4 separate regions of the Homo sapiens genome follow, and regions 1, 3 and 4 are each linked to region 2. Evidence: promoter capture Hi-C in 16 types of primary human blood cells and fetal thymus (Javierre and others, 2016). All regions are on one chromosome and are shown on one strand. Each heading gives the region's core, a stretch centred on a gene start or on the middle of the fragment in contact. The rest is flanking DNA. Distances are from core to core; before and after follow the strand shown.

Region 1 (2,853 bases), core at 240-2,739, 570 kb after region 2:
CCAGCTAATTTTGTATTTTTTAATAGAGATGGGGTTTCACCATGTTGGCCAGGCTGGTCTCGAACTCCTAACCTCAAGCGATCCACGTGCTGCGATTATAAGCATGGGCCACCGCACCCAGCCCTACACTGATTTCTGATAAAATAAAATGGGCTGGATGTGGTGGTTCACGCCTGTAATCCCAGCACTTTGGGAGGCTGAGGCAGGAGGATCACTTGAGCTCAGGTGTTGGAGACCAGCCTGGGCAACATAGTGAGACCCTGTCTCTAAAAAAAATAATAAGTGATAAGATACTCTTCATACCTAGAGGTAATTGAGAAGCTCAAAGTGAAAATAATGAATGGACTGCTTTTAGGTGAAGGAAAAAAGAGCAAATTCATATAAAAGTAGGAAGTGGCCCCTTTGGCACTGTAAAGCAACTGTCTCGTCCTTGGATCACACTGAGCTACAGATCTTCAAGGCCTTGACACCCACCCACCCCAACTGTGCTAGCCCAGCTTTGTCTGCCTCCTGCTCCCTCTGTCCTTCCCTTCCCGAGACCTGGCCATTCATTGCCCCGTCATAGACAGTAGCACCCTTGTAGCCTGAAGGCTGGGCTTTCTGGTGTACCAAGAAAACACAGTCTCCTTCCTTTCCCATTTCTAAACTTGAAGGAAAAAATAACAATCCCGAATCAGACTCTGCTTTCATGCACTGCATCCCATAGGAGGAAAGTTAGAAGGTGGTGATCAGCTCCACTGGGGGCAAAACTTGTTTTCTCAGGAGCAGCAGCCAGGCATGATTCTTTCTCAAACACATGGTGTGGAGACTGGAATCAGGCAGCTCTGTGATAGTTTTGGCCCAGAATACAGGCACCAGCTTAATGAGCTCCACCTCCGAAGAAAGGCCCCTTGTGTTCCTAGTGGGGAGGAGTGTCATCCACGGTACAGCCTGAGGAGTCCCCTGACTCGGGAAAGACTTGGCAGACGGAAATCTGAACCTAAGCTGCCAGGCCGCAAACCTGGCGGTTTGAGAAGGTGTTACGTGGCTTCCATCTCAAAATTAAATTCCGTATGACACTCTGCTTCCAGTTGAATGGTCTGCGTGAATTCTTTAAACAAAGCACCCCAAAACCACAATAACCATTTAGTACCTCTCTCCCTGGACCAGAAATTCAGACAGGACTCAGTGGGGACAGCTCCTGTCTGTCAGCTCCACAATGTCTGCAGGTTTACATGTCTGGCAGTTGATGCTAGCTACTGACTAGGAGCCTAACTGGAGATACTGGCAGAACACCCACGCTTGGCCTCCACACAGGGCCTGGGCTTCCTCATAACATGGTGGCTGAGTTCCTAGGGCCAGTGTCATGAGAAAGTGAGAGAGAGAGAGGCAGAAGCATATTGCCTTTTATTTATAACTTAGCTTTGGAAGTACCATGTTTCTTCACTGCATTCTGTTGGTCAAGGCAGCTACAAAGAACTGCTCAGTGTCAAGGGGAAGGAACACAGACCCCTACCACTCAATGGAGGAATGTGCCACATTACAGCACGTCAGATGGAACATTTATTGGTGTGACCATTTTTGGAAAATACAATCTGCCATAATGTACAGTGCCAAAAAAAATTAATGCTCTTTGTCTCATTGACCTCAGGAAAATTTACCTTAGGAAAATATTCAACAGAAAAAAATAGTTATGCCTAAAGGTGTCCGTCGTGAGTGCTTATTCATTTATTTACCCATACATCCAATAATTTTTTTTTTTTGAGACAGAGTCTCGCTCTGTTGCCCAGACTGGAGTGCAGTGGCACAATTTCTGCTCACTACAACTTCTGCCTCCTCGGTTCAAGTGATTCTCGTGTCTCAGCCTCCGGAATAGCTGGGATTACAGGCGCCTGCCACCACACCCAGTCAATCCAATAAATACTGATTGAAGTATTTTGCCAGATGCTAGGAATACAAAGAAAACGTAAGATCTATCCTTCTTTCTTTCAAATAGCTTCCAGTCTATGATAGCTAAAAATAAAACCCATCCAAATGTCCAGTAATAAGATGGTTTAATAAATTCTATGTAGACCAGGCAGGGTGGCTCACACCTGTAATCCCAGCACTTTGGGAGGCCAAGGCGGGTGGATCACCTGAGGTCAGGAGTTCGAGACCAGCCTGGCTAATATGGTGAAACCCCATCTCTACTAAAAATACAAAAATTAGCCGAGTGTGGTAGTGCACGCCTCTAATCCCAGCTACTCGGGAAGCTGAGGCAGGAGAATCGCTTGAACCCAGGAGGCAGAGGTTGCAGTGAGCCAAGATCGCACCATTACACTCCAGCCTGGACAACAAGAGTGAAACTCCGTCTCAAAAAATAATAATAAATTATATGTAAACTCTAGGAGATACGATCTTGAGATGTTATCACTTAAGGATTTTTATTTTGACCTCTTTTTAAAACTCTCTGCAGCTCTGAAAAGACTATTTGGAAAGATGGGGAAATGTTGGATAGAAGTGAAAACAAATCAAAGTTGTATGTCTACTGTGATTACAATTATGTAAAAATATGCATGCATATCACCAAGGACTAGAAGAGAATATCCAAATGTGAACTCACTTGTTGAAGTGGGAATATGCATGATTGTCCTTACGTTTTCTTCTCTTTTCTTTTTTTTTGAAGTATTTTTCAATGTTATATTGCTTTTGTAATTGAAAAACTCCAGAAAAAATATTGTGGTGCAAATTAAATTGTATAGGTCAAAGGGAGAGAAAGTACTGCTCGGTGGGAAGCTGACAGGAGAGACTTCATTAAAAAGGTGACATTTGGGCCAGGTGCAGTGGTGGCAAACACCTATAATCCCAGCACTTTGGGAGGCCTGAAGTTAGGAG
Region 2 (2,700 bases), core at 192-2,691:
ATGATATGTATACTAGTGAACCATTTACTTAAAAATTTTAATAAATAAGCATGGAGATATACATATATTTACATGTATAATTAGGTAATACGGGTATCAAAACAAATGCAGATTAAATAGCCACTTTATAATACTAATTACCTAGAAAAGTGAAGAGGGAGAAAGGTGAATGGAACTGGGGAGGGAAACAAAGTGACATTCAACTCTATCTGTAATGTTTAATATAAATAAAAACATGAAACAACTATAACAAAAATTTCACATTTGATTACCCTAGGCAGTAAATACATGAACGTATGTTATTCTTGATACATACGTATTAATTTTCAAAAGAAAAAGTACTGAAGAACTACAAATAAAATGCACACAATTCACTCATATAAAAGCTTGTATACATCAAAAACTAAGATATGACTATTTTTAGAAATTATCCTGTTTGTTTTTCTATGTAGTTTTACATTTTTAAAAAGAAAAACGAGGGAAAAAATGAGAGCAATGAAGACACGTAAAAGAAACCGTACATGCATTTGATTATAAAAAAGGCAAACCTCCACAATCACAAAACACCATATGAGCATTCTATATCATGTGCTGCATTTCCTTACATTTAACTTTCGTCAAAAGCAAATTACAAGATAATGCCTAATTGGAAACGTGACTTTCTATTATTAAAATGGTGGGAGTCCATTTTAATGTGTTTATCTCGCCGCTAGACTATAATTTATATCTCAGCGTTTAAATTTGTTTGGATGCCAGTGACAGGTTAATGCAGTTTAAACATGCATTTTTCTTTCGTTGGCTGAATAGTTAAATCGTTACTCAAAGGATTTTAAGTTTCAATTTCAACCGGGAGAGGATTCTTTGCTTTTCCAAGGTTAAAACTGTTTCTGGTTCGAGATGCTATTAATTAATGGCTACGTAGCGGATCTATTTAGGGAACTGCTCCCGGCCCCGGGTTCACAGTTGACCTGCTCAATGAGAAAACTTTTTTTGCTACAGACTTGGGGATATTTGCAATTTAGTCTGAGAGCGGCGAACGGGGAGTGAAATGGAATTCGAGACCACTTCGCTAACAATCGCAATTATGAACCGAAAGACATGTCAGGTATTAGCAATTTTTTTCCTTAAAAAAAAAAAAAACTTTCTGGGACTCCGCGGGACACCCAGCTGGCGACGGACCAGCGGGCGGCGGGCTGCGGGGAGGGGGGGCGAGGCTGCTGCAACCCAGAAGTTCCGACTGGGGAGTTTCGCTCTGTTACCATTACCTGGCTCGCCGGCAGAAGAAAGAACGCGGAGACAAGATAATTTCTGAGGCTGTTAAACATGACTTAGCCGGGGGCCGCGCGTTCCGAGGGGGTGTCCTGCGGGCCGGGGCGGGTCTCTGCCGCCCCCGCGGGCTCCGGTGCGTCAGGGGCGCGTCAGGCGGGGCGGGCTCCGCGCGGGCGGCGGCGGCAGCGGCGGCTGCGGCGGCGGCGGCGGCAGCAGGCGGCAGGCGGCGAGCACCCGGCCTCCTGCTTCTCGCTCCGAGGCTGCGGGACGGACGCTCCCGGGAACTCCGTCGCCCGCGGCCGGCCGCGTTCGGACGGCGCTCGCCGGCGGCCGGGCGGTCCCAGCATGTCGGCCGCCGTGGCGTGCCTGGACTACTTCGCCGCCGAGTGCCTGGTGTCCATGTCCGCGGGCGCCGTGGTTCACCGCCGCCCGCCGGACCCCGAGGGCGCGGGTGGAGCCGCTGGCTCGGAGGTGGGTGCGGCGCCGCCGGAGTCCGCTCTGCCGGGTCCGGGGCCACCGGGGCCCGCGTCGGTCCCCCAGCTCCCGCAGGTCCCCGCCCCCAGCCCCGGCGCGGGCGGCGCCGCGCCCCACCTGCTGGCTGCAAGCGTCTGGGCGGACTTGCGCGGCAGCTCTGGCGAGGGCTCCTGGGAGAACTCGGGGGAAGCTCCACGCGCCTCGTCCGGCTTCTCCGACCCGATCCCGTGCTCCGTCCAGACCCCGTGCTCCGAGCTGGCTCCCGCCTCCGGCGCCGCGGCGGTCTGCGCTCCCGAGAGCTCCTCCGATGCGCCCGCCGTCCCAAGCGCGCCTGCTGCCCCGGGCGCACCAGCAGCCTCTGGTGGGTTCTCTGGAGGGGCCCTAGGGGCAGGCCCCGCCCCCGCCGCGGATCAGGCGCCCCGGAGGAGGTCTGTCACACCTGCTGCCAAGCGCCACCAATGCCCCTTCCCGGGCTGCACCAAAGCCTATTACAAGTCGTCGCACCTCAAGTCCCACCAGCGCACCCACACGGGTGAGCGCCCTTTCTCCTGCGACTGGCTCGACTGCGACAAGAAGTTTACGCGTTCCGACGAGCTGGCCCGCCACTACAGGACGCACACGGGCGAGAAGCGCTTCTCCTGCCCCCTCTGCCCCAAGCAGTTCTCCCGGAGCGACCACCTGACCAAGCATGCTCGCCGCCACCCAACCTATCATCCAGATATGATCGAGTACCGGGGACGTCGTCGAACTCCCCGCATCGACCCGCCACTCACCAGCGAGGTGGAAAGCTCCGCCTCCGGCTCCGGTCCCGGCCCGGCGCCCAGCTTCACCACCTGCCTGTAGGACAGTCATTGCTGTCAGTCTTACCCTCAAGGATGATCCCCCAGGCCGTTGTCCCTGCTTTCTCTCTGCCCATCCTTCTTTCCCAGAGTCATTACACCAAGGCACAGACTGGTT
Region 3 (2,910 bases), core at 123-2,622, 560 kb after region 2:
AAGTCCCTGCCTTCATTAAGCTTTCATTCTAGTAAATGAGATAGACAATAAAAAAGATAAAGTACTTTGGGCCAGGCACGATGGCTAACACCTGTGATCTCAACACTTGGGGAGTCCAGCGTTGGTGGATTGCTTGAACCCAGGAGTTTGAGACCAGCCTAGGCAATATAGTGAGACCTTGTCTCTACTAAATAGAAAAAAAGAAAAAAAGTGAACCAGGTGTGGTGGCATGTGCCTGTAGTCCCAGCTGCTTAGGAGGCTGAGGTGGGAGGAGGATTGCTTGAGCCCATTCGATTGAGGCTGCAGTGAGTGGTGATTGTGCCGCTATACTCCAGCGTGGGTGACAGAGCAAGACACTGTCTCAAAAAACAAAAAGAGAAGAAGAAAAAAAGTACATTGGACAGTGGTTAGTGCTAAGGAGGAAAAAAGCACAGGAGGGTAATGTTATTAATGTTTAGAGAGGAGGGGTGAAATTTGAGGTAGGGTCGTCAGGGGAGACGTCATTGACTTGTATGAAGACCTGAAGGTAGTGAGGAACCAGCTGTATGAACACATGAGAAGAGCATTTTAAGTTCTTTTGGAAACTCACTTTTAGAATAATCAGTGTTCTCTGTGTTTTATGTTAACAGAGGCTAGTATTACTAGCTTGAAACAAGCTGCCCTGGTTAAAGCGCCTCTCATTCCGACTTTGAACACAATCGTTCAGTATCTAGACCTTACTCCAAATCAGGAATACTTGTTTGAAAGGATCAAAGGTAATTATTGATTTGAAGAGAAAAAAATAAGAGCTTTTTTACTATGCTGGAATTTTATCAGTGAAGATTAACAAGGAAAAACTTTTAATTAAAAGTATAACATGTCTTATAAATACGTATTAATTATAGCTTAATAACTTTATTTTGTGTAGGAAACTTAAATATGAGCTAAATGGGCTCCAGTGACTATTTCACTCATTTCCTACTTTTAGACTCATAAGAATGGGTGCCATTATGACATTCTTTATAGTTCCGGTGTGCTGAGCCTTATTTCTCTTAATTTTTATAATTCCTATTTAATAAGTTTCTTCCTTATATTTCTGTGATATTCTTATTATTTGGTGGAAGATGTGCTCTCCTGAGGAGACTGACTTGAGAATCAGGAAATGTAGGCTCCCTGACACCCCCATACACCCTCTGTGCCTCTCTACTTACAGAGCAATTCATAACGTTAGAATTTTTTAAAATTTGGATAAACTTTTTAAAAGATTCTCATCACTAAGACAAGTTTTAGAAATAGTATTCAAATTGATCATAAATCTTAATTTGAAAATATTATAGTGTTCTCCCTTTCCCCTAAGGTTAGAGCAGGATTCAGGAATAAACATTTTTCATGACTTTTTAAAACATTTTATATAAGGAGAATTTTAAACATACACAAAACTAGAAAAAATAGTATACACACTCCTCTTGTACACATCACCCAGCCTCAACAATCACTAGTCCCTGGCCAGACCCTGCCCTATCCATACCCCGTCCACTTTCTTCCTGTATTGTTTGAAGCAAGCCCTCATGTCATTATCAGTTCATCTGTAAATATTTCTTTGTATATCACTAAAAGATAAGCCTCCCGCGACCCCCTGCTTTTGAGAAAGGGTCTTGCTATGTTGCCTAGGCTGGTCTCCAACTCCTAGGCTCAAGCAGTCCTCCCACCTCAGCCTCCCCAAGTGCCGTGATTATAGACATGAGCCACCGTGCCCAGCTGAGCCTTTAGAAAACTAATACAAACATACATAACCAGAATACAATTATCATTCTTTTTTTTTTTTTTTTGGAGACAGTCTCTCTCTGTCGCCAGGCTAGAGTGCAGTGGCGCAATCTTGGCTCACTGCAACCTCCACCTCCCGGGTTCAAGCGATTCTTCTGCCTCAGCCTCCTGAGTAGCTGGGATTACAGGCACACACCACCATGCCCAGCTAATTTTTGTGTTTTTAGTAGAGATGGGGTTTCACCATGTTGGTCAGGCTGGTCTCAAATTCCTGACCTCGTGATCCACCCACCTTGGCCTCCTAAAGTGCTGGGATTACAGGCGTGGGTCACTGCACCTGGCCACAATTATCATTCTTAATATAATTTTTTTTTTTTTTTTTTTTGAGACCCGGCTCGCTCTGTCACCCAGGCTGGAGTGCAGTAATGGCACTAGTGCAGGAGTGTATAGCTCCTTGCAGTCTTGAACTCCTGGCTATGGCAATCCTCCCTCCTCAGCCTCCCAAAGTGCTGGGATTATAGGAGTGAGCCACCATGCTACCTGGCCCTAATATTTCCTGTGTTATGAGATATTAAGTCTGTGTTCAAATTTCCAGCTATCTCATAAAAATGCATAATTTTTTGGCAATGTTTGTTTGAATTGGGATTCAAATATTGTAATACATTGCAATTGGTTATTTCAGTTTATTTTAAGCTATATGCTTCCCATTCACCTTTTTTTTTCCTTTGCAATTTATTTGTCAGAAGAACTGGATTGTTTGTCTTTAGTGGTTCCCATAGTGTGGGTTTTGCTGAATGCATCCCTATGGTGTAGTTTTACATAACCCCTTCTCTTTCCCATAAATTCATGTTTGAGTTTTTTGGCAAGATTGCCTTGTAGTTAGCAGGGTATTTGTACATCCAAAAAGAGAAAGTGTCTGTGTATGTACACATATATACAAAGTATATAAAGGTTTTATATCAAATATACAAAAAAGCTTTAAAGAATACAGTGGGCTGGGCACGGTGGCTCACGCCTGTAATCCCAGCACTTTGGGAGGCCCAGGCAGATGGATCACAAGGTCAGGAGATCGAGACCATCCTGGCTAACACGGTGAAACCCCATCTCTGCTAAAAATACAAAAAAAAAAAAAAATTAGCTGGGCGTGGTGGCAGGCACCTGTAGTCC
Region 4 (2,700 bases), core at 164-2,663, 520 kb after region 2:
AAAGTGCCATAGTTCGGTATTTATAACTGCAATCTAAGATCCTCAGCTCATTCTTAATATCTGATCTCTGCAATGGTAGGCAAGCATCTTTAATGAGGTGCCTTTTTGTTTTCTGGGTTACAGCAATCATTCTCCAAAAATCTTGAAAGCGGAGTTCACTTTTAAGATACCACTTTCTGGCCAGACACGGTGGCTCATGCCTGTAATCCCAGCACTTTGGGAGGCTGAGGCGGGCAGATCACAAGGTCAGGAGATCGAGACCATCCTGGCTAACACGGTGAAACCCTGTCTCTACTTAAAATACAAAAAAAATTAGCCGGGTGTGGTGGTGGGTGCCTGTAGTCCCAGCTACTCAGGAGGCTGAGGCAGGAGAATGGTGTGAACCTGAGAGGCGGAGCTTGCAGTGAGCAGAGATTGCACCACTGCACTCCAGCTTGGGTGACAGCGAGACTCTGTCTCAAAAAAAAAAAAAAAAAGATACCACTTTATAAAAAATGCTTTTGGAAGAGGCTTAAATATTTTAAATTTAATATGTATCACTTAGGTTATAGAAAAGGAAAAAAATAAATTTAATATATGTAAAGAAAATCAAAATAATTGGAAGTTTATAAACCTAAAAGTTAACAGTAGTTGGTTATTTCTACATAATCTGGAGTGATTTTTATTTTATTTTGTCTTCTGCCCTATAATTTCCACATTTTCTATATAATGTGTACTTTTGTAATAGACAGGAGAAGGTATTTAAAAACACTTATTAGGCTTATATCATTTCCACAGAAAGCTCTCACATTTGATGTCAAATCAAAACATAGCCACAAAATCAAAAGAAAGATTTTGCATTAAACTAAGTGGGATCATATGAACTGTGGTTACGAAAAGCATTTTATTAACTGTCTTTGTGACTCAGTGAGTGAAAACAGCAGGAGTGCCTGCCCTGAGGGGCAGAGTAGAAAATGTGGGCCGTGGCTCTCTTTCTGCCACTAACAACTCTTGATTTTTCCAAGCCACTTAACACCTCTTAAGCTCAGTTTCCACATAAGCAAAATAAGGTGTTTGGATTACCATTGTCCAGAAAAATACCAGCACTAGCAATCTGAATAAACACAAAATAAAAATATAAACTAAATATAGTATTTATAGTCTGAAAGCAAAAGGGTAAATGCCACTTTAAAAAGTGGCAAATTCAGAGGAAATCAGCGTGCTTCATGTTGGAGGATAATTACCACCACATTTCCATCGTGCTTTTACCATTACTTCAAGGTTTGTAAATAAAGCCTCATAGTTTAGCAGAGAAAATGAAGAAGTTCAAAGTGAAGGAAAAATTCCATCCTCCTTTACTAGCTCTCATATTGTTCTCAGATTTCAAATCTGGGACCCTTCAGAAGAAGCAGTCTAGCTGATTGTAGCTGCCACAAGGGTACAAAGTGAAAAACGAAACCTCTAAAATAATTAAGGTTTTAATCAGGACTGAGTAGATCTAAGTGGACATTTCAAACTATGCTTTGAAGCAAACAAATAATTTGACAGGAAATCTGGGTATATTCCCCTTCTGTCACTAACACTTTTGTGACATTGGACAAGTCACTTAATTTACTTGGGGCTTATCAATAAAAAAATGAGTGGGGGAGGGATAATGATAACTTACTTGCCTACAAACAGAAGGCTGGACCACATGCTCTCTTGAGGTCCTGGAAGCTCAAGGCTGTATGACTCCCAAGAGCTGATGCAAGCAAGGGAGCAGAAAAAATAGCTTAGACTGGGCCAGGCGTGGTGGCTCACGCCTGTAATGCCAGCACTTTGGGAGGCCGAGGCGGGTGGATCACGAGGTCAGGAGTTCGACACCAGCCTGGCCAACATGGTGAAACTCCATCTCTACTAAAAATACAAAAATTAGCTGCGCGTGGAGATGCACGCCTATAATCCCAGCTACTCAGGAGGCTGAGGCAGGAGAATCACTGGAACCCAGGAGGCTGAGGTTGCAGTGAGCCAAGATCGTGCCATTGCACTCCAGCCTGGGCAACAGGGCGAGACTCCGTCTCAAAAAATAAAAATAAAAAAAATAGCTTAGACCTCTTAATTCATGATGAAATTTTTTTGGTAATTTTCTAAAGTAGCTTTGCTTGCCAGGCCAAATTCAATATACTTAGCTAGGGAGTCTAAGACACATATAAGCTATCATTATTCTAAATCTCCTTTTGGCAAAGTATTTACCTTAAGAAGCATTTAGACTTTAGATGAAAGTTCTTCACCAGGAGGTGGTGGTTATCAAAGAGTCTTTGATTAGAATGGAATCCAGCTGGCATGGACATAACAAACCTTCTCCACCCCATCCGAGCTCATAGAGCATTAAGTCTTACCACTGCCAGCCCAGGCCTATGGCTATAATGCTAAATGATGGTGGTTTTCTTAATCATCAGCCTGGTATTAATGGCCAGCAAGGATATCATGTCAGCAAATTATAAGAGCTTGGTTACGGCTGGGCGCGGTGGCTCATGCCTGTAATCCCAGCACTTTGGGAGGCCAAAGCGGGCAGACTACTTGAGGTCAGGAGTTTGAGACCAGCCTGGCCAACATGGTGAAACCCCATCTGTACTAAAAATACAGAAGTTAGCAGAGCGTGGTGGCTTGCGCCTGTGGTCCCAGCTACAAGGGAGGCTGAGGCAGGAGAGTCACTTGAATCCGGGAGGCGGAGGTTGTAGT

What was found. The method cuts DNA at HindIII sites, captures the fragments that hold promoters and counts their contacts. A CHiCAGO score of 5 or more calls a contact.
Region 1: a contact is called between a fragment that was not itself captured here and the fragment with the promoter of KLF14 in region 2, in 2 of 17 cell types (megakaryocytes and erythroblasts). The highest score is 6.7, in megakaryocytes.
Region 3: a fragment that was not itself captured here is called in contact with the fragment with the promoter of KLF14 in region 2 in 9 of 17 cell types (megakaryocytes, erythroblasts, total CD8 T cells and 6 more); the score reaches 9.8 in megakaryocytes.
Region 4: a fragment that was not itself captured here is called in contact with the fragment with the promoter of KLF14 in region 2 in 15 of 17 cell types (megakaryocytes, endothelial precursors, M1 macrophages and 12 more); the score reaches 17.3 in megakaryocytes.

The regions. Positions count from the first base shown.
Region 1 is chr7:130,158,650-130,161,502 of GRCh38, reverse strand. No RefSeq gene overlaps it. Among named protein-coding and RNA genes, the nearest start is that of LINC03008, 18 kb to the right of the region's middle. The HindIII fragment of the contact is 9,270 bases long and covers 1-2,853 here.
Region 2 is chr7:130,732,948-130,735,647 of GRCh38, reverse strand. KLF14 (KLF transcription factor 14) reads left to right here and starts at 1,441. Exons shown (of 1, transcript NM_138693.4): 1 at 1,441-2,700. The coding sequence starts at 1,615. The coding sequence ends at 2,586. It overlaps LOC105375508 (a long non-coding RNA gene), which reads right to left and starts at 1,384. Exons shown (of 4, transcript XR_927978.3): 1 at 1,266-1,384. RefSeq lists silencers at 1,628-1,707, 1,778-1,937 and an enhancer at 1,833-2,370. The HindIII fragment of the contact is 4,510 bases long and covers 389-2,700 here.
Region 3 is chr7:130,176,247-130,179,156 of GRCh38, reverse strand. It overlaps TMEM209 (transmembrane protein 209), which reads left to right. Exons shown (of 15, transcript NM_032842.4): 10 at 630-755. Among named protein-coding and RNA genes, the nearest start is that of TMEM209, 28 kb to the left of the region's middle. The HindIII fragment of the contact is 2,699 bases long and covers 23-2,721 here.
Region 4 is chr7:130,208,937-130,211,636 of GRCh38, reverse strand. All of the region lies in intron 1 of SSMEM1 (serine rich single-pass membrane protein 1), which reads right to left. Among named protein-coding and RNA genes, the nearest start is that of SSMEM1, 2.4 kb to the right of the region's middle. The HindIII fragment of the contact is 3,567 bases long and covers 1-2,700 here.